Regions from separate parts of the Homo sapiens genome. Here regions 1, 2, 3, 5, 6 and 7 are each linked to region 4. The links are contacts of gene promoters, found by promoter capture Hi-C in blood cells and fetal thymus (Javierre and others, 2016). All regions are on one chromosome and are shown on one strand. Each heading gives the region's core, a stretch centred on a gene start or on the middle of the fragment in contact. The rest is flanking DNA. Distances are from core to core; before and after follow the strand shown.

What was found. Contacts are between HindIII fragments. The CHiCAGO score rates a contact against its expected background, and 5 or more counts as called.
Region 1: a fragment that was not itself captured here is called in contact with the fragment with the promoter of TBX2 in region 4 in 3 of 17 cell types (megakaryocytes, M2 macrophages and erythroblasts); the score reaches 8.9 in megakaryocytes.
Region 2: a contact is called between a fragment that was not itself captured here and the fragment with the promoter of TBX2 in region 4, in 13 of 17 cell types (megakaryocytes, naive CD4 T cells, M0 macrophages and 10 more). The highest score is 12.9, in megakaryocytes.
Region 3: a fragment that was not itself captured here is called in contact with the fragment with the promoter of TBX2 in region 4 in 2 of 17 cell types (megakaryocytes and M1 macrophages); the score reaches 5.4 in megakaryocytes.
Region 5: a fragment that was not itself captured here is called in contact with the fragment with the promoter of TBX2 in region 4 in 1 of 17 cell types (total B cells); the score reaches 5.6 in total B cells.
Region 6: a contact is called between a fragment that was not itself captured here and the fragment with the promoter of TBX2 in region 4, in 7 of 17 cell types (monocytes, total B cells, naive CD8 T cells and 4 more). The highest score is 7.9, in monocytes.
Region 7: a fragment that was not itself captured here is called in contact with the fragment with the promoter of TBX2 in region 4 in 3 of 17 cell types (total B cells, monocytes and naive CD8 T cells); the score reaches 6.9 in total B cells.

Annotation. Positions count from the first base shown.
Region 1 is chr17:60,942,351-60,945,348 of GRCh38, forward strand. All of the region lies in intron 13 of BCAS3 (BCAS3 microtubule associated cell migration factor), which reads left to right. Among named protein-coding and RNA genes, the nearest start is that of BCAS3-AS1, 190 kb to the right of the region's middle. The HindIII fragment of the contact is 5,117 bases long and covers 1-2,998 here.
Region 2 is chr17:61,026,569-61,029,693 of GRCh38, forward strand. The region is part of intron 16 of BCAS3 (BCAS3 microtubule associated cell migration factor); the gene reads left to right. Among named protein-coding and RNA genes, the nearest start is that of BCAS3-AS1, 110 kb to the right of the region's middle. The HindIII fragment of the contact is 222 bases long and covers 1,349-1,570 here.
Region 3 is chr17:60,924,416-60,927,646 of GRCh38, forward strand. It overlaps BCAS3 (BCAS3 microtubule associated cell migration factor), which reads left to right. Exons shown (of 24, transcript NM_017679.5): 13 at 1-85. Among named protein-coding and RNA genes, the nearest start is that of BCAS3-AS1, 210 kb to the right of the region's middle. The HindIII fragment of the contact is 4,676 bases long and covers 1-3,231 here.
Region 4 is chr17:61,398,358-61,401,269 of GRCh38, forward strand. It overlaps TBX2 (T-box transcription factor 2), which reads left to right and starts at 1,486. Exons shown (of 7, transcript NM_005994.4): 1 at 1,486-2,214. The coding sequence starts at 1,820. It overlaps TBX2-AS1 (TBX2 antisense RNA 1), which reads right to left and starts at 1,249. Exons shown (of 2, transcript NR_125751.1): 1 at 882-1,249. RefSeq lists promoters at 443-1,703, 1,323-1,570 and a cis regulatory region at 1,559-1,570. The HindIII fragment of the contact is 11,976 bases long and covers 1-2,912 here.
Region 5 is chr17:61,813,496-61,816,598 of GRCh38, forward strand. The region is part of intron 6 of BRIP1 (BRCA1 interacting DNA helicase 1); the gene reads right to left. Among named protein-coding and RNA genes, the nearest start is that of BRIP1, 48 kb to the right of the region's middle. RefSeq lists an enhancer at 2,263-3,103. The HindIII fragment of the contact is 1,586 bases long and covers 639-2,224 here.
Region 6 is chr17:61,843,133-61,846,079 of GRCh38, forward strand. All of the region lies in intron 6 of BRIP1 (BRCA1 interacting DNA helicase 1), which reads right to left. Among named protein-coding and RNA genes, the nearest start is that of BRIP1, 19 kb to the right of the region's middle. The HindIII fragment of the contact is 1,501 bases long and covers 555-2,055 here.
Region 7 is chr17:61,858,956-61,861,928 of GRCh38, forward strand. BRIP1 (BRCA1 interacting DNA helicase 1) reads right to left here. Exons shown (of 20, transcript NM_032043.3): 2 at 2,492-2,614; 3 at 841-952. The coding sequence starts at 2,584. Among named protein-coding and RNA genes, the nearest start is that of BRIP1, 3.1 kb to the right of the region's middle. The HindIII fragment of the contact is 1,636 bases long and covers 886-2,521 here.

The DNA.
Region 1 (2,998 bases), core at 391-2,890, 460 kb before region 4:
CGGGAGGCGGAGGTTGCAGTGAGCCAAGATTGTGCCACTGCACTCCAGCCTGGGTGACAGAGCAAGACTCCCATCTCCAAACAAAAACAAAACAAAACAAAACAAAACAAATTTATTGTTTGAATAACAGTAAGTAAAGAATATAAACTATGTCAATAACCTCATGATCATAGCTAGACATATAATGAGAGGTAAGGTTATATATATTGTTGTAGGTTTAATAATTTATTAAATTATTTATAATAAATGGTACCTTTCATTTTCTAAAATGTATTCTCTTGGAAATAGCCAGGACAGTGGCATCTAGTAGGATATTTTAATATAGTGACTAGAGCTGTACCTTATGTTTGCCAAAGAAATAGCAAACTCAAATTTACTTCATCTTTTCACTGAAATGACTATCTTGTCTTCCCACAGATGCTTAATATTCTTTCATGCCTTTTTGTTCAACAAAACATTAGTTTAAATGCTTATACTAATGTGATTCTGCTTCTGGGAATAGCAAGGTAAACGTAGAAACCATCCTTCCCATAGAAAACATTTATGAAACCTGGACAAAATACAACTGAACAGGCACATAAAGTTAGATATGTGTATTATAATCTCTGGAACAACCAGTAAAATTTTAATATAAAGAGATATAGCTCAAAAGTCCATAGATAAATTATTTATTTTTAACATTCAACAATAAATATTGTTAAAAATAAGTAGTCTCAAAACAGCAAGAAACCATGAGAAGAGAAATAAAACTGAATAAAATGTTGAAATTAGCATTTCATAAAAATTGAATATTCCAAATAAATAGTCCCATAACAGCAAGAAAACATGAAAAGAGAAATAAAAAACAGAAACAAGACAAGCAAAAATAATAATAAATTGGTAGACCTAAGTCCAGCCCTACCAGTAAGTACTAAATATGAATAAACTACAAATACCAATTAAAGGCAGTGATTTGATTGAAAGAGAGTGAGCGAGTGTGAGAGCACCCAACTGTTATCTAAAAGAAGCCTATATTGATAGATATAGAGTAGAAGAATGGAAAATATATACCATGCAAGTACCAATCAAAACAAAGTTGGAGTGGTAAAGTTAATATCAGAAAAAACTAGACCTCAGAGCAAGGAAAATAACCACGGTTAAATCATGTTAAAAGGGTTAATTGACCAAGACTTCATACAATCCTAAATGTGTATGAACCTTGCTCTAAAATTTAGGAAGCTGATATAACTTAGGAAAACTACACATGTCCACAATTATCCTTGGAGACTGTAACTCCTACTCAGTAATGGAACAGAAAGCAGTCAGTCAGTAAGGAAATTGAAGATGCAAACATCACTACCAATTACATACCTTTCTAGAATATATTCTAGGTGTTCAAGTGTATATGGAACAAGGATCATATTTCAAGCCATAAAACAAACTTTAACAAATGTAAAAGAAGTAACTTCTTGTCATAATGAAATTATACTGGCAATAATATCTGAAAGATATCTGGAAAATATCCAAATATTTGGTAACAAAACAATATACCTTTAAATAACCCACGAGCAAAAGACAAAGCAACTAGGAAACATTTAAAACTGAATATAAATGAAATTGCAGCATATCAAAATCTGTTACATTTAGCTAAGCAGGCTTAGAGGGACATTAATACCTATATGTGCTTACTCCAGAAAAGAAGAAAGTTCCTGAAACAATAATCTAAGCTGCTCCCATAAGAAACTCGAAAAAAGGAAGAGCAAATGAACCCAAAACAAGGAGAATAAAGGAAATAATAAATATAGTAACAGAAATCAGTGAAATTGAAAAGAGAAAAACAGAAAGTTATGAAACCAAATAGGTTAACCTTAAAAAGACCTTACCAGACTGGTGAAGAAAAAAAACAGAGAAGACACAGATTACCAATATCGTGAATGAAAAAGTGGATATCATTAATGTCTCTACAGATATTAAAAGGATGAATTCCTTGAATTACAGAAAGTAATTCATCAAAGAAGAAATTTTAAATTAAAAAATTAACAAAATATTTAATGGTAGTTAAAAATCTTCAAAAATAGGCCCAAATATTTTTACTTGAAAATTCCCTTAAACATTTAACGAAGAAATAATAGCAATCCTACATCTTTTTTTTCCCCAGAAATTAACAGAGTAAGGAGCATTCCCATTTGATTATTTGAGGCCTGGATTATCCTAAATATCAAAATCATCCAAACACATTATTAGAAAAGAAAACCACAAATCAGTATTTCTCAGGGACACAGATAAGAAAATATTCAAGAAAATATTAGAAAATTGAATCTAGCTGCTTATAATAAAGGATTTTGACCAAACGAGGCTTATCCCAAGAATGCAAGGCATATTCAACATTTGACAATCAGTTATTGTTAGAATTCGCTATATTAATAGATTTAAAAAGAGAAGCCACATAATCATTTCAATAGCTGCAGAAAAGCACTTGAAAAATTCAATTTTCTTTCATTATAAAAACTCTCAACATATTTTACGAAGGACTTTTACAAAAAACCTATACATAATGTTATACTTAAAGATTGAATGCTTTCCTCCTACAACACAGAAATCTCTCCTTCCTATTTCTGCTTGCCTCAGCAAATGCAGTAAGTCGAGAAAATTGAAGAAAAGGCATGTAGGTCAGAAGGGAAGAAATGAAACTGTGATTGTTCCTAAACTACGTAATTGTCATCAAAGAAAATTCTTGTACTGTATAAAAAAACCCCTAGAACTTGCAGGAAACATACATTGTCAAGATAAAAAATCATCAATTTTATCTCTATGCACTAGCAAGCAAAAATTGATCATTTTAAAAAATATTACCATTTATAATAACTCTAAAAGACAATATTTTCAGAATCTGTGTGTCAAACAAAAAGAAGTCAAAATAGATCTAAATCAAGAAATATGCTGTGTTAATAGATCAGAAGGCACAATATTAGGATAACAGTTGTCCCCAAATTAATTTATTACACTCAATACAGTTCCC
Region 2 (3,125 bases), core at 210-2,709, 370 kb before region 4:
GGGCTTCAGCAGTGAATTTTATTTTATTTTAACTTAGAAATACTACAGGGGTGCTCCAGAAAAGGGGGAGAAATAGAAAATTTTGAATCTCTAACTCTGAAAATTAAGGGCCTTGTTACTACACATCATTCTGTTTATTGGTTATATCAGACAGTATGTACAGCAGAATTGTAAATGATTACTAATTTTTTAGTTATTTTTATCCATACTCTATAACAGTATGATATACTTGTATTTGCTAATGTTAAATGAGTTTTTCTCTAATTTTTTGTGCATTTTTCCCCCTTTTCCATGAAGGCCTTATCTCTTTGGAGCGGGGTGTTTTTCCATAAAAGCCCCATGGTGAGTTCCAGTTCAGTCCCGCATGCCTCATTCATTTGCTGTACTCTCAAAAAGTAATTTGTTTTGTAGTTTTGTTTCCAGTTGCATGGCCTGATCACAGATAGATGCACCAAGTTACTGAATAATTTGTAGATGGAACATGAATGTTGATATTTAAGCTTTAGAAAAGTGGTTTTCTTGGTTTCACTTCATTCTTTAAAAAGTAAAAAACAAAAAAAAAAAAACCACAGATGAATTTTTTTTAAATAGAAGAATTCTCTCATAATGCTCGTAAATATTACAAGACAAGGCTAACACCCAAGTTTAAAGCTTTGAGTATTATGGCATTAGAAGTTACCTACATATCATGCATAGCATTTGAGGACATGATTTATTTTGAAATATAAATATATTTAAGGTATACCAAAAGCACCTTATAAAGTTTTTGTTGCATTTTATTTGGTCCTAAAGAGACAAAAGTTCTGTTTTTGAATAGTTTAGGTATTTAAGGAGCTACATAATGACAAAATATATATTTTACATAAAACCTCCTAAATAATTTATTATTTTGAATTATTAGCACATACTCATCATAGCTTAATTATTTGGTAAATTCTTTCATGTCAGTGCACAGAATACAGCTTTGTCAGTCTTAGACAGGAAGGTCATAGAAAAGAATTCGAATATATTTAATACTTTCATGTAAAGATAGGAAGTAGAATGTGTTAAGAATGGTATAAAATGTTTAATGGTTAAGAGTCAGACTGCCTGGGTCTTAGATCCCAATTGACACACTTACTAGCTATATGATTTGGGGGGAGTTTTCTAAAACCTTTCTATTTCTTATTTCCTTATGTATTAAATGTACCTATGTAATGGACTCACTATGAGTATTAAATAAGCTGATACATATCTCAGTATGTGTTAGTATATAACAGTGCCTGGCACATAGTAAATGTGCAGTAAATGTTAGCTGCTACCACTGTTTCTTTTCCTGTTTCAGGGAAAAATACCGTGTTTCAAAAGAAGCTTATTTAAATTAGATTATGTTTTTCACTTTTAAGGATATGTTAACCAGTGCGAAGTTTTGAGAAATGTAAGCTATATTAATTTTATTAATTTAGTCAGAATACTGAAAAGAGTTCTGCACATATGTGTAGTTCTCATAACTGCTAAATGGGGATTGTTCATACTGTTCTATTACACTAGAAAAAAACATTCCAACGTTTTTTCCTCTTGGACAGAAAGAAGCTTAAATAGTTCTTTAAGGTTAATTATTATTTGACACAAACTTATTTCAATGTTTATATGCCATAGGAAGATCTGAAAATTTTGTTATTGCTTAATAATAGGTGACATAAAACAAATCAACATAAAATTTTCCTCCTTGAAAATTATAATTAGACACAGTTTGCAAAACTATTCTAAACAAATTCAGGATATACAAGAATATAAATCTCATGAAAGTTGATCTTTATTCATTTTGTTAACCAGATGTCTTCTAAAAACAAATAAGATACACAGATCTTACTTATGAGCCTTCCAGTGATCAGTGAATTTTAAATGCCACATTCAACATATGACAAAATTTCTTTGTAAACTTAGAATTAAATTCCATTTTAGGATAAATTCTTCTTCTAAGTACAAAGCAAAGAGTTGTAGTATGTTAATAAAGATTGAAGTTTTGCATAGAAGTAAAAGATGGAATAACAACTGTTGTATGTTAAGTAAGTAAAGTTCATTCCTTCAACAGCTTACGTGCTCCTCACATTTAAGCAAAAGCACTTGTCAACCAGAAATGATTTGAGGTTGAAACAAGATTAAAAGAGCCAGATTAAAGAAAGGGATATATTAAATATAGTAGACTTTTAAATCATTGCCTGTCTTTTAGAAGACTGCTTTGTGGTTTGTTTGATGCCATCGTTAGCTCACAAGAAACTCGTTTTTAGTCACTTATACTAGACTAAAAGGTTCTCCTTTAAAATGTTACTTTCCCAGTGGTGCATGTTTTTTCCATTAAGATCTTAATGAAACCTCAAATTAAGGCAGCAAATGAATATAAATTTGACAACTTCTTCCATTTTGTTTATAAGAGCTCCTTTGTTTTAATAGTTTTTGCTATTTTTCCATGTTATTTAGCATTCAACCTGAGAATGTTTTTATGTACTGTTCTGAAATAAAACATTATATGCTAAATAAATATGTTTTTAGTATATCCAGTTATAGGGTAATATATGTATTTTGGATGAAAAATGAAATTTTTAAATGAAATGTAAATTTTCTACAAACTTTTTATTAGTTTCGAGTTGCAACGTTAACACTTAGCTAAGAATTTGCTTTTGGTATATCACAATTTCTGCTAGTTCTTTATTCTCCATTAAACAGGTTTAGTCCTTTACATTCATATACTTTCAGATGAGTCGTTATAAAATACAGTCGTTCCCTTTGGTAACAAAATAAGCTTGTTGGAAAGTAAACTATGCATCTTCAACATTTTAGTCACTTTGGACTTCCCTGGTATTATGTGTCATCTAGGTTAGTTTAGGATATTTGAGTTTGGATGACTATATAAAATAATACAAAAGAATTACACATATAACATACTTTTTTAAACATAGGAATTTAAGATAAATAATCCCAGTGTGAATTTTTGAATCTGAATTTTGCTTTCAATATTACAAATAAATAGGAATGTATCAAGCTCTGAATTTGCATGTAGTGTTGTATTTAAGCTACTGTTATTTTTGAATTGCTTATCAAAAAACATACATGACAGGTAGACAATGGGTAGTCCATATAAGTAT
Region 3 (3,231 bases), core at 21-2,520, 470 kb before region 4:
AGTGAGGATTCTGACAGTGATGGCATTGTGGCCCACTTCCCTGCCCATGAGAAGCCAGTGTGCTGCATGGCTTTTAATACAAGTGGTAAGTTCGCTCTCTGTCTTTTTTTTTTTTTTTTTTGTAGACCATTTATATAATGGGTTTTCCAGCCAAATATGGAATATGGAATCTGACTTTTCTTCATGTATCAGTATATATCAGAAAAGTTATTAAGTCATTATATTGAATAAAGGAATTTATAATAAAAATTTAGTACCCCTCTAAAATCCCTCTAAAATTGGTTTTGTTCTCGATAAAGTAGCTATTAAATAGCAGCCATTTAAACAATGCTGTTGAGTTACATGAATTTCTGTTTATAATTACTCCAAGAACTTCAGTATTCCAAACTAGAATATTAATGGATATGAGCAGTATTTTTTTTTTGTAACTTGAAGTTTTGTGTAACTAACTTACAACACTTTGTAAGCTAATTTAATTTTCTCGGTTTTTTTTTTAGTGGTGCTCTTTTTCTTTTTCTTCTTAAGGTTTACTCCTTACATTTTGTTATATCTTTTTAGTTCCTTTTAATATAGCATACAATTTGTACTCTTAATTTTCTTTTCACAATATCCAGAGTAGTTGTCTTATTTAAATTCTGCATTTGTAAGATTTTTAAATTTTTATTTTACTATTTTTTTAAAAAAAGATAAAGACAGAGTCTCACTATGCTGCCCAGGCTGGTCCTGAACTCCTGGCCTCAAGTAATTCTCCTGCCTTAGCCTCCCAAAGTATTGCCACGATGCTTGGCCAGATTTTTTTCATTATGATAATGTTTTTGTATTTCTCCATTCCCTGGATATCTATCTGTTTAACTGGAAGTTAAGTCTAGAGGTATAAATCCATTCAGGCTAAGGAGTTTTTGTTTGTTTGTTTCTAAACTTCGTAAGTATTGCGTCTACATCATTTCATCCCAATAGGAGACACATTATTTTAGGTTGTCTCCCTATTTGTGGTGCTATATTTGATCACATGAGTAAAGTAATGACTATCAAGTATCTACATTATTGGAAATAGGTTTTTCTTATGGAGATTAACAAGTACTCTACAGTATGTCATTTTGACATTATTTCTGAAGCAACTTTTTAATTAATAATTTTGTTACATTGAAGGTTGTAGAATGGTGGGTTGTTTTCTTAATTCTGTCCTGGTCTCTGCATTTATTGACTGTTATTCTTCTATAGAAAACGTTTTCTCTCATCAGCCAGGAGTAAACAGCCTTTCTCCTGTATATCAAAAGTGGTATAAATGCCTAATTCTCTCTCTCTCTTTTTCTTTTAAATGACCAATTTTCACAGTAAGGAGTTGGTGTAATACTTCCAGTGGTAGGAAACAAGTTACAGGTTGAGTACTTTATGTCTGAAATGCTTGGGACTAGAAGTCTTTCTGATTTTAGATTTTTTTTTTTTGATTTTGGAATATTTGCATATATAATGAGTTATCTTGGCGGTGGGACCCAAGTCTAAATACAAAATTTATTTGTTTCATGTATACCCTATACACATAGCCTGAAGGTGATTTTGTACAATATTTTAAGTGATTTTGTGCATGAAACATAGTTTTGACTCCGTTTTAACTGAGACTTTGTACATGAGGTCAGGTGTGGATTCTCCAGTTGTGGCATCATGTCAGTGCTCCAGTTCTGGAGCATTTCAGAGCATTTTGGTTTGCATTATAAGAAGAACATAAATTTCTGTGAGGATTTTGGTTTTTCAGATTAGGAATGCTCAATCTGTATTTTAAAAATACTTTGTAAATAAAACTGCTCTTTTGTTTTCAGAGCTGGTATAGTCATCATAAACTTGCAGTCTTTTCAGATCTTACCCATTTGGTTGATGTATCTAAGGAGCATGCTACTTTTAATCTTAGTTTTCAGAAATGATTATATCACTTAAAATTGATGGGAAAAGCCAATCCTTTTCCCCTTCTTTTCATCTTTTCAAATAAAGAATGATAGTAAGGGATTATCATTATATAGAGATATTATTTTATAAAGCACTTTAAATAATCTACCCTCTAATATCTTAATAAGTCATCTTTGATTAAGGGAACAGGATTTTTATAGTGATTGGTAATCAGTAGGATTGATTTAATTAATAAAGGCAAGATTTATTGAAATTCTGTGAGTGTTGTGGGAATTAAGTTAAATGTGAAAAAACAGCCTGGAAGTTATGTCACTTGTAGCACTCCACTTGGAATGACCGGTATGACTCATATTGATATTCCATCTGTTATGTCAGATCTCCTTTGTGTTAGTGTATATTTCATATAACCCTACAGTGCTTCTGACACTGGCAGCTGTATTTTTTTCCTGTGACTTTGCATTATAAGAAGAACATATTATATAATATAAAGAGTGTTGTAGTCGTCATAAAATGGTTTCATAATTTTGATCTACATTTGCCATTTGATTTCTTTGTCCTCTCACATTTGTGTTTATACGATAAGGTTAAAAATAGCAATATTTATACCTATTTTTCTGTGTTGCTGGGACACTAGGTTTATAACTATGATGTAATTTATTTTGTGACAATCATTTGTTTAAATATTTGTTTCCCTTGCTAACTTATCTGTTCCTCCTACAAAGAGATCAGATGTCATTAATCTTTGTATCTCTAGTGCTTGGCATGGTGTCTCAGAGTAATAGGAAACTTAGTGAATTATTTTGAACTATTCCCCACTGTAGATGTATGGCACTGTATTAGGCATGGTAGTCTCTATTTTGACAATGAAAGTGATAGGTCAGTTCAGTATTTTTAAATTCTTTTATTTATTTTTTTCTTTCTTTCTTTCTTTTTTTGTTTTTTGTTTGTTTTTTTTTTGAGACAGGGTCTCGCTCTTTTGCCAGGCTGGAGTGCAGTGGCACGATCTCAGCTCACTGCAACCTCCGCCTCCCAGGTTCAAGCGATCCTTGTGCCTCAGCCTGCCAAGTAGCTGGGACTACAGGCGTGTACCACGCCCAGCTAATTTTTTTTTGTATTTTTAGTAGAGACGGGGTTTCACCATGTTGGCTAGTGTGGTCTCGATCTGTTGACCTCGTGATCCACTTGCCTCGGTCTCCCAAAGTGCTGGGATTACAGGCATGAGCCACCACCCCTGGTCCTTTCCTTATTTTTCTATAGAAATTTTGATGAGATTCTACTAAAGTTCTTCTGGAATTTATTCACTTTGAAATGGTTCATGGTGTATAGAGT
Region 4 (2,912 bases), core at 236-2,735:
CGGCCTTCAAACGCTGCTCCCAACGTTCAACAACGAAGTGCCCTGCGACCGGTGTGCGCAGTGGGCGGGCGCCTGCATGGGTCAATGTTGGATGTACGCGCCCACCACGCGGTTGTACGGGTGGGAATGTCACCCGTGGCTAGTGCATGCTCTGTCTTTTCCTTCAGAAAACGACCTTCAGGAATCAGCCTGAGTGTTCGCGCCCGAGCCCGATTGGAAGCAGGTGCGTGGTCGCTTCACTCTCCCCGTGCACACCTTGAGTTATAGCTCTCGCTGCGCACAGAGGGCACCACACGGGGCCCGACACACACACACACACACACACACACACACACACACACACACACACCATCACTTCATGGGGGGGAAACTGAGGCTGCCGGAAGACAGAAAACGAAGACTGATCACAGAAGAGGGGGCTTCAATCACAGGTGCTCGCAGACACCCCAACTCCCTCACGCGTTACTCAGCACTCCTTAACTTAGGAGACGTGCGCTTCCGAGAGATGAGAAGAAACTAAAAAAGTGGTTGGCAGGGCGAAGAGAGGAAGCCGGTATTTCGGAAGAAGGAGACTTTCGTCTCCGGTACCGGATAGGGCGAAAATTCGTTGGGTCGCGGGTGGAGAATCCGGGGTCCGCCCGCGCGGTGCCGCCCTGTGCTCAGCGAAAGGTGCGCTCACCTTCCTGGCCCCGAGGATCCGCTCCTCCCGGCCGCTGGAAAGCTCAGGGCGGGGCCCGGGCCTGCGGAGAACTCCAGGTTCCTTCCGAGTCTTCCGGTGAAGGCGGGCGCGGGTAGGGGGTCCCCGCGTTTCCCCAGCGCAAGGCCGCGTCCCGCTCCCGCCCGCGCCGGCCCCAGCAGGGCTCGGCCATGGCTCCACTCACCAGCTCCCGCCACCTGGGATCCGCTCCCGGACCTCGGCCGCCCGAGCCTCCCGACTCGCCCGCCCACCGGCCTCGCTTTCCAGTGCCTGCTGTCTCTTTCCGGGGCGCAGGGACCCCCAGGCGGCGCCACGACCCGGAGCTGGGTCGGAGGCCAGGCTGGGGCTCGGGCCAGAGCGGCCGGGCCTCTGGGCGCGGGAGAAGGAGGGCGCCCCCTCTCCGCTCGGGGTCGTGTCAATGCTTTGCACTTGGGGCCGGCGTGCGGCTGCGGGTCCTTCCCCAAGGCCCCGGGACCCGGGCTCCCCTCGCCTCAGGCCCTTTCGGCGGGTCAGGTCGGCCCTCCGCGCTCTCCAGTCCGGCGCAGGCAGCCGCAGGCGCGGGCGGGCGGTGGGGGCCGGGGCAGGAGGAGGGGTCTCGGGGCCCGGCGGCCCGTCATTGGTTAATATTTTATTCTGTTGACATGTTTTCTTACTGCTGAGGCTTCCGACACCTTCTCCCAGGCCCCCCCTCCCGGCCGGAGCTTGGCCTGAGCTGTCAAAACCCCGCCCCCGGAGACCCACAATTGGTCCAAAAAGCGTAAAATCAGCAATCAAGGGGGGCCTGGCTCGTTAGCGCAGGGGATCCGAGCTGGGCAGGACATGTGAGATAGTCACAGTTTTCCAGAGATCACGACAAGATCTAACCAGTCGCGCGTGGTCCCCGGCGCCGGAGCGGGCCAGCTCAGCCCGGCCCAGCCCGGCCCCGCGCAGAGCCCCCGCCGCCCCCGCGCACAGAGCCGGGTGCCCCTTGCGGTGCGCCGGACGGGAAGCCCCGAGGAGCAGCTGCTGCGCCCGCCACCCGGGTCGTCCGTCCACCGCGCGCGCCGCCGCCCGGGCCGGGGGTCCGAGCCGCGCGCCCCCGGCCCCGGCCCCGGCCCCCGGGCGCCTGGGCCGGATGTCCCGATGAGAGAGCCGGCGCTGGCGGCCAGCGCCATGGCTTACCACCCGTTCCACGCGCCACGGCCCGCCGACTTCCCCATGTCCGCCTTTCTGGCGGCGGCGCAGCCCTCCTTCTTCCCGGCACTCGCGCTGCCGCCCGGCGCGCTGGCCAAGCCGCTGCCCGACCCGGGCCTGGCGGGGGCGGCGGCCGCGGCGGCGGCGGCGGCAGCAGCGGCCGAGGCGGGGCTGCACGTCTCGGCACTGGGCCCGCACCCGCCCGCCGCGCATCTGCGCTCCCTCAAGAGCCTGGAGCCCGAGGACGAGGTGGAGGACGACCCCAAGGTGACGCTGGAGGCCAAGGAGCTGTGGGACCAGTTCCACAAGCTAGGCACGGAGATGGTCATCACCAAGTCCGGGAGGTAGGGCTGCCGGCCGGCTGGAAGGCGCGCGGGCGGGCGGGCGGGCTGGGGCACGGGACTGCACGGATCAGAGCAGAGCTGGGGACTCCCGGCTCCCGGCTCCCGGCTCCAGGTTCTGGCCCTGACGCCACGCTTCGCTCCCACGGACAACCAAGTTGACTTTTCTCGTTTGGCACCGGAGCGATTTTTTTTTAAAACAAAAACGCTAAAATCCTCCGAATGAAATAAAACGAAAACATACTGCTAAAGAATAGCCCCAACCGTTCTGAGTCCCAGCGCAGAGGAGGCCCCGCGGCTTGGCCCTGGCGGTCTCCTCCGCCCCGCGCTCTCGCTCTTCTGCGTCCGGGTCCGTCTCCGAGCTCGGGGGAAATTCAGCCTCTCTCAGACTCTGCTCCGACCCCGAAGCCCCTAGTGGGACCTGGGCCCAGCTAACCCCACGCTGGTTGCTCGGTTCCTGGCAGCGAGCCCCGGGTCAGCCGAGCCCTCCGCCTCACCGGGCTGGGAGCCCTTTCTCCACCGCGGGCATCCGAGCCCTGGACGCATCCGCCGCCCCAGGCCTTAAAGCCTGAAGAAAGCCACAGCCCCGGCCCCTCCACCCTTCGACTCAGCCACCGAGAATCCAGGCCTCGGGTTCACCCTCTTCCCCCGAACTGCACGGCCAGGATGTCTTATCAGGCTCTGTAGCCCAGTTCCCAATA
Region 5 (3,103 bases), core at 182-2,681, 420 kb after region 4:
GACAGATGCTTAAATGATGTCCTAATTTGAAGTGCTGCACATATCAAAAAGATACTTCAAAATCCAGATTAGCTTTTAAAGGAAAAAGTACAGGACAATTACTATTTTTCAAGGCCAAAAAGAAAAACCATCTTATGCTAGTATTTTAGTCGTGACAAACATATATCCCAATATTTTCATTAGTAATAATACTGCCATTTTTAAGCCTGTCCTTGTGCTAAACATTTTTCATCTAATATCCCATTTCATTCATTCATTGACTCAAGAGACATTGGAATCCCTATATATCAAGCCACGGAGAAGACAATGACAAGGATCACCTCATCTTACTGACAAAGAGAGCTTCATTCTTAAATTGTTCTACAAAGTGTAGTTCTTGGAGTTTATCACACCATTTTCACTCATAAACCAAGGAATTGTTTAAAGTTAGTTATATTATTTTATGAATGCAATTACAAAATATTCCTAAGTATGATCTTCATAAAAATTGTTTTAACTTATTAGTTGACATTTAAATCAAATATGTTATAACAAGATCCATATTATGTCCCCCAAGGGAAAAATAAAAAACACAAACTTTCAATTAATAGACTCTTTAGAGCAAGAGTCAGCAAAAGAGCCAGACAGTAAACATTTCAAGCTTCAAAGGCTATATGGTCTCTTCTTCCATAGGAAGATATCTTTTATGATCGAAATGTAGAGAAGGATTTCCTAAAACAATAAACCAAAAACACAAATGAGTGAAAACACAGCTTCATTAACATGTTAAACTTCTATTTAAAGATACATATTCCTTAAAGAAGGAAAGAAAAATAGGTAAAAAGGGGGCACAGGCTGACAGAAGATACTTGCAGTGCTTACAGTCAAGTGAGGATCAGTATCTACAACATATAAAGAATTCCAATAAATCTATTTTTAAAAGACAAACCCTACAGAAAACCAAGAACAGGCAAATCACAGAAGAGAAAAGCTGAAAGGCTAATAAATATCTGAAAAGATGTGCCATCTAATGTACAGCTTCACTAGTAATTAGGAAAATGCAAATTAAAACCATAATTAGATTCCATTTCCTATCCACCAGATTGGGTACTGGAGAGGATATGAAGAAACTCTTATTCACTGCTGATCGAAGTATAAATTGGCACAACTACTTGAGAGCAAATTGGTGATCTAGTGAAATCAAAGATACATATACCCTTTGACCCAGCATGACACTGTTAGGTATACATGCTAGAAAAACTCTTGCACATTAAGACAGATACAAGAGGAATATTAATTGCAGCATTGTTTTAATAGTGAGAAAAACAAGCTACATGTATCAACAGAAGGAATGGATGAGTAAATTGTGGGCTCTTTCCAATCAATGGAATAATATTATAATGAAAATATATGAATGACAGTTGTATGCATCGACATCGATAAACATGAACAAGCAGTTGAACAGGCTGAGTATGGCTTAAACAAAATTGTATTTTCCCCATAAAATTCTAAATAAGTTGATGATAGAAATAAAAATATAAAACTTCAGGTAGAGAGTGAGGAATCAAGACTATGGAAGATAATCTTAAAAGCTAACAATTGTCATGAAAAACATACCTGAAAAATGCTAGAAGTGCTGGAAAAAAAAAAAAAAACCCACAGTAAATATACTCTGTTCTGGTTTCTCCTCAGTTGTTTCATACCCAGCAGAATAGCTTTCATCTTAACACCTCCTCCTCAAAAGTTTTCAACCTAATTTATTAGGAAATGGGTTCTCAAATTAGGGTCCATGGGCTATTACAGATCACCCAGAAACTACAGACACAATTTTGTGTGCATTTTTAGAAAGTGAACCCCTAACTTTAATCAAGTGCTCAAAGCAGATTGTGACTGATTTGGGTTAGGGCTTTATTCCAGAATTTATATCTGGTTTTTTAACGAAAATCAAATGGAAACAACATTTTCTTTATAACCAAATTAGCCAGACATAGTTATTCTGTAAAGGAATAAACAACAGCCAAGAGAATTTCATAAAGTTTCCTCCACTGCTTCTGAACTCATTTCTATTTTAATGTTTGTTAATTACCTAATATTAACATAAGGCTAAAATACTCAGTTCACTAATGTATATTTCTAACTTCATTTTACAGATAAAAAAGGAAATTCAGAAGAATTCAAATTCCCACAAAATACACAATAAATTTGTGGAGAAGTTGAAATTCATAACCTTAAATCTTTAAAGTGAAGCTTTAACAGGATTGTTTTCATCTACCACTTAAGCAAAAAAGCAAAACACTGCCCTTTATTTCAAAAAGTCATGCATATGAAGAGCTAGTGGTAAAAGGCCAATGAACATAGAATTATACTACAAACTTTGAGACATAAAAAAGGGTTTTTTAATCTTTATCAACCATTTGCTGTTGTCCAAGCCATCTAAACAGGTACTGAATGCCCGTTGTGCAAAATCTCACATTAGCACACACTCTAGTAAGATAGCAAAAGTAACATAACTATACCTTTTCAACTATTCTTTTTTTAAAAATTCAAACAGTAGTAGTACCCTACTGCCACCGTTTCATGATTAGACTGCACAAAGCAGCTGTTTATCCACTCACAGCAACCAGCAGGTGAACCTGATTCAATATTTATCACAGGCTTTCATAGATCACTGCTAACCAAGCAAACGTTTTAATTAAGCTGGAACTTGCTTCAAAGAGCTCATTCAAGATGTCAATCAGCAGGTAGGGGATCAGATACAGTGTCAGGTGAGAGTGTGTAATACAAATCCACAACTTTCTTCATCCCATCGCTGTAAATTAGCCTGCTCTAAAGTTCAGACTCTGATTGTAACAGACTGCCAGTCTCCTGGAATGTGTAACTGAAGTCACTCAAATTCTATTGTGAAGGTTGTAAGCAATATGTTAAACTGCAGTGGGCTAGCACATTAAGACAGATCCTTTTCACGGTTGTTTTTTGATACCATAAGTGTTTGTTACCCTACTCTCCACTTACTGTTTACTTTCTTGCCTAGTGTAAATGGGAATTCCTTAACACAGTTGCTCCAGTTTCTGAAAAGTCTGTGTTTCAATAGAGTAAATCAATAAGAATTATCAGTTTAAGAACA
Region 6 (2,947 bases), core at 55-2,554, 440 kb after region 4:
GATCTCACTTATACGTGGAATCTAAAAAAGTCAAATACATAGAAACAGAAATCAGAACAATGGTTACTGGGGCAGGGAGGTGGGGGATTTGAGGAGATGTTGATCAAAGAGTAAAAAGTTGAATCTACATAGGATGAATCAAGTCTAGAGATCTAATGAACAGCATCATGACAACAGTTAATAATACTATATTCTAGGCTGGATATTTCGATATTGGCTTTAAAATTTTCAGGTGTTCTCAACACACACACACACACAAAAGGTAACTATGTAAGGAGATGAATATATTAATTAGCTTGTGATATGATTTGGAAGTGTGTCCCCTCCAACTCTCATGCTGAAATGTGATCCCCCAAGTTGGAGGTGGGGCCTAGTGTAAAGTGCTTGGGTCATCAATGGCTGGTGCCCTCCTCACAGTAATGAGTTGAGTTCTTGCTCTGAGGTCACACGAGATCTGGTTATTTAAAACAGTGTGGAACCTCCTCTGCTCTCTCCTCTGTCCTCTCTTTCCATGTGACAAGTTTGCTCTCTCTTTGTCTTCTGGCATGCTTGTAAGCTTCTTGAGGCCCTCACCAGAAGCAGATGCTGACACCATGCTTCCTGCACAGCCTACAGAACTGTGAGTGAAAATAAACCTCTTTTCTTTATAAATTGCCCAGCCTCTGGTATTGCTTTATAACAATTCAAACAGACTATCACAGCTTGGCTGTAGTAATAATTTCACTATGTATATATATATTAAAACATCATGTTTTACACCTAAAATATATATAATTTTTATTTTATGTATTTATTTTTTATTTTTTTTTAGAGACAGGGTCTCGCTCTGTCACCCAGACTGGAGTACAGTGGTTCAATCATAGTTCAATACAGCCTCAATCTTCTGGCTCAAGGGATCCCCCTCCCTCAGCCTCCTGAGTAGCTAGGACTACAAGTACACACCACCACACACAGCTATTTTTTTTCTTCTATTCTTTATAAAGACAGGGTCTCGTTATGTTGCCCAGGTTGGTCTTGAACTCCTGACCTCAAGCAATCCTCTCACCTTGGCCTCCCAAAGTGCTGAGATTATAGGCATGAGCCATGATGCCTGGCCCAATCTTTATTTAAAAATTAAGATCAGGCAGTATGTGTCCAAAGTCCATTCTCTTAACCAATAAAAACAAAACAAGCCAGGTGCAGTGATTCATGCCTATAATCCCAAAACTCTGGGAGGCCCAGGCAAGAGGATCACTGGAGGCCATGAGTTTGAGACCAACCTGGGCAACACAGTGAGACCTCATCTCTACAAAAAATAAAAATAAAAAATTAGCTGGGCATGGTGTTGCACAGCTGTAGTCCTTGCTATTCAGGAGGCTGGGGTTGGAGGATCACTTGAGCCTGGGATTTTGAGGTTACAGTGGGCTATGATCACACCACTGCGTTACAACATGGGCAACACATTGAGACCCTGTGTCTACAAATAAAGCAAACAAAAACAATTCCCAAGAAAAAAAAATCTTAATCACAGGTGACTCTATACTTGATTTGTTTATCTGTGAGCTTCTACATATTTCTTTCCTTATCTTGGTGTTAGAACCCTATTTAGGTGGCTCCAGGACTGCAAAGAGGCATTTTAGAGAGAATATAAAATAAAGTGATTAGGGCATTTGCCAGAACATGAGAATGCCTAGGCAGGATTTAGCTCTACTATTTACTAGCTTTGTGATCTTAGGCCAGTTTCTTCCTTCTCAGAGTTTCCTCATCTGTACGATGGGAATACCAATATACCTGCTTCATAATCATTGTAAGAACTCAGTAACATTCAACAAATAAATATTTATTAGACAACTAATATGCACCATATGCTATTCTAGGCATGAGGGACACACATGAAAAAGACTGACATTACATCGTAATAGGACAGACAAATAATAAACAAGTAATCAAGTAATTTCAGATAATAGTAAGCCCATGAAGGAAAGGAAAGAAAATGAATGAGAAAACACTGTGGCAGAGCTCAACATATAGCTTACATTATAATGATGTTGATGATTATTGCAATTTAACAGAAGAAGCTTCTACATAATTTCTCCAACTATTAATATAAAGCTTCAGTGAAGATCACCAACAAAACACAAATTAAATGTACAGTAACTGAAAACAAATCTGTGGTTGCCTGGGAATGGGGGGACAGGGCAGAAAAAAGGTCCATCAGTCTATCTTGCACTTAGGATGGACCTTTTCTAGGCATCATTTTGCAATATCATGCACTGGTCATTTAAATAATATTTAGTTCGCTGAGTTTAAGTTCATTGAGTTTTACAGATCTTACAAATGTTGACACATTTCATTATATAAATATAAAAAGTCATATTCTGTAATATCACCAATTTCATCAGAAAAGTCTGTAGTTATCACAAAGCTGCCAAGCTCAGAGTATATACAAATTTTTTAAAATTCTGATTTTCACTTGAAAGCTCAAATTTTATCTGGCTCATTTTATCATAAAGAATTACCATGGTTAGTATATCATTCACTCTTTTTCAAGCAAAAATGATGTTCCATGACAAAAAGTGGCTAGTCAGCTCACAATCCAAACTATCCTACAGGCGCTTCTCCCCAGGACATCCATCCTGCTTCTGTATGCAAAAGTGTTTTATGAGTTCTATTCATTTCTTCAGACAGAATGTTAAAAACCTAAACGGCTGAGATTAAATAAAATTAGTAATTTTTACTGCTTCATCAAAGACATTCTTAAATGAAACTGGTTTTTTTTCAAAACTGTGATCTAATGATGCTGGAAAACTATTATTAACATAGGTTGGGTTGAGGCCAAGGTGGGCGGATCACGAGGTCAGAAGATCGAGACCATCCTGGCTAACGTGGTGAAACCCCGTCTCTACTAAAAATACAAAAAATTAGCCAGGCGTGGTGGCAGGCGCCTGTAGTCCCAACTACTCGGGAG
Region 7 (2,973 bases), core at 454-2,953, 460 kb after region 4:
GAGGCTGAAGCAGGAGAATCACTTGAGCCTGGGAGTTTGAGGTTACAGTGAGCTATGATCACATCACTATGCTCCATCCCAGGTGACGCCACTCAAAAAAAAAAAAAAAAAAAGGAAAAGTAGTGGGAAGTAATATAAATTCATACAAACAATATTATACTAAATTTCTGTTTATCTGGCATTTAAACAAGTAGAAAGATCAACTAGAATGTATTCTTTTTTATATATTCCATGTGCTGATGTTATGAGAAAGGAACAGGTAAGCAAATATATTAAAGGATTTCCCCCCCCAAAAAAAGCAATTAGTATGTGTTACAGCATCATGACAGCCCATCTCTTGCATCTTTTACATACAAATTATCATCTAATTATTTTTATAATAACTCTAAGCATCCAAAACTTTGTTTGTTTGTTTTCTTTCACCCAGGCTGGAGTGCACAATCACAGCTCTCTGCAACCTCGACCTCCTGGGCTCAAGCGATCCTACCACCTCAGTCTCCCAAGTAGCTGGGACTACAAGTGTACATCACCATGCCTGGCTAATTGATTGTCAATTTTTGTAGAGATGGGGTATCACCATGCTGCCCAGGCTGCCAAGTCTTTATGTACTTTCCGACTCATCAAAAGACTAAATTATGTTCAATACTATTTTAGCATTAATTAAACATATTTTGCTATATTGAAACTCTTTTGGAAGATTTATAACTTATTTCAAAGAAACATCTTTAAACAAATATTTAAGTTAGCGACAGCATGGCTGAACCAGTCTGGATAAAGAATACTGTATTATATTTTCTCAGATCCCAGTAAGTAACCTGAAGATATCAAGCAACTACTTACCACTAAGAGATTGTTGCCATGCTAAAGCAGAACAAAGTAAGGCTAAGCTTTTTCCACTTCCTGTGGGACTCTCCAACAAACAATGTTGCTTGCTGTTTAATCCTCTGAGAATCTATGAACACAGAAACCAATGAAAATAATAAACATATTAACTTTATAAAGGTCTCTCTCCATCTGAAGTTTAAATAGAACAGCAAGGAAAAGTGAGATTGCACTCCAGGGAACACAACAATAGCAGAAGGAACTCATATTTAGTTAAATCCAAACTGTATTCCTTTACACCTCTCCCTAAGATTATCTTACTAAAATATCAAGCACAAGAGAAGAAATGAAAAGAGGAATCTGTGCCAGAATTATGCAAGCATCAATGATTTCTGTAAAACCAGAATACATTACTACCTATCAATATATTTGATGAAAACTTAATGAAGGATACTGCTAGTGAGAGTACAAATTGTTACAACTACTTGGTAGAGAAATAAACAATTTCTTATAAAGTGAAGATGCCCAGCTCCAGCAAGTCCAGTTCTATGTGTACACCCAAAACCTTTCCCACATGAACACAAGGAAACATGCATAAGAAAGTTCACAGCAGCAGCCACGCTTGTAATCCCATCACTTTGGGAGGCCAAGGCAGGTGGATCATTTGAGGTCAGGAGTTCGAGACCAGCCTGGCCAACACGGTGAAAACCCGTCTCTACTAAAAATCCAAAAATTAGCTGGGCGTGGTGGCGCATCCCTGTAATCCCAGCTACTGGGGAGGCTGAGGCAGGAGAATAGCTTCAGCCTGGGAGGCAGGGGTTGCAGTGAGCCAAGATCGCGCCACTGCACTCCAATCTGGGCGACAGAGTGAGACGCTGTCTCAAAAACAAAAAGAAAAAAGGAAGTTCACAGCAGCATTGTTTGTAACTGCAAAAGAATGTAAACAACCTAAATGTCTACCAATAAGAAAATGGACAGATAAATTCTGGTATATTCATCCAATGGAATTTATACAACAATTAAAATGGATTAAGAATCAACAGGGCTATACATTAAAAATAATGCTAAGTTAAAAAACTCAAGTTCTGCATAAAAAGTAAGGTACCGTATCACATCAATGCACAGTTTCAAATATGTAAAATAATATTCTATATTGTTTATGGATACATATATATGTAATAAAAGTATAAAAACATGGCTAGGAAAGGAAAAGAACAAATTCAGGATACTAATAATCTTGTTACCAGTAAATAAGATATGAAGTACATATGGCAAAATAGCTGTAACAAAACTGGAAAGCTGGTTTACTCAAATTTGTATATTAATTTTCTACATGATCCAAACAAAACAATGGTGAGAAAAATAGTATTCTGTGTAAAAGATAGTAAATACTCTGTTTTTACTTAAAAGTATAGCAGTTTTTCATTAAAAGTATAGAAATTCCAAATGAGCTGAGAACATTTTTCAGAATGTTCTTCTTTGCCTTAACCACAGATATATACAGTTTAGCTGCAATCAGTAGTTTCCCAGAGGTTAGATATTCTTCCAAGTGAACCCAGAAAATATTCTCCATTTACTGAGAATATGAATGCAGTCAAATACTCAATGTACTTTATGGGTCATAAGTATCTATATCTTAATAAAAACTTAACTGCTGAAAAATACTTACAGAATTCATCATAGCAAGCTGTGACGGGTAAGCTTTATAAGGAAAGTAAATCTTCACCCCACCAATTGTATATTCAGACCACATTGAAGACATAGTGCTTTCCTGTTTATTTCAGATTCCTAACTACAACAGAAATGAAAATGTCAAATATTGAGACACGCCTTACAAAGAAAACCAGAGAACCAAAACTAAGGGAGAAATCTGGAAACAGAAACTGGAATTAATAAAAGTATAAACAAAACAAATGGAAACAAAATAATTTCCTAGTCTTATAAATCACAGCGGTCAAGAGCATGTCTTAGAGTCTAACAAATCTAGATTTGTATCCTTCACTCTGCCAGGTATTAGTTGTGTGACTTCGGGAAAGTTAGTTACCTTCTCTAAGCCACAGTGACTGCATGTACCCCATAGGATTGTGGTAATGATTAAGTGAAATAATGTGCAAATATGATAAAGTACATACCAGATTAAACATGAGCTCT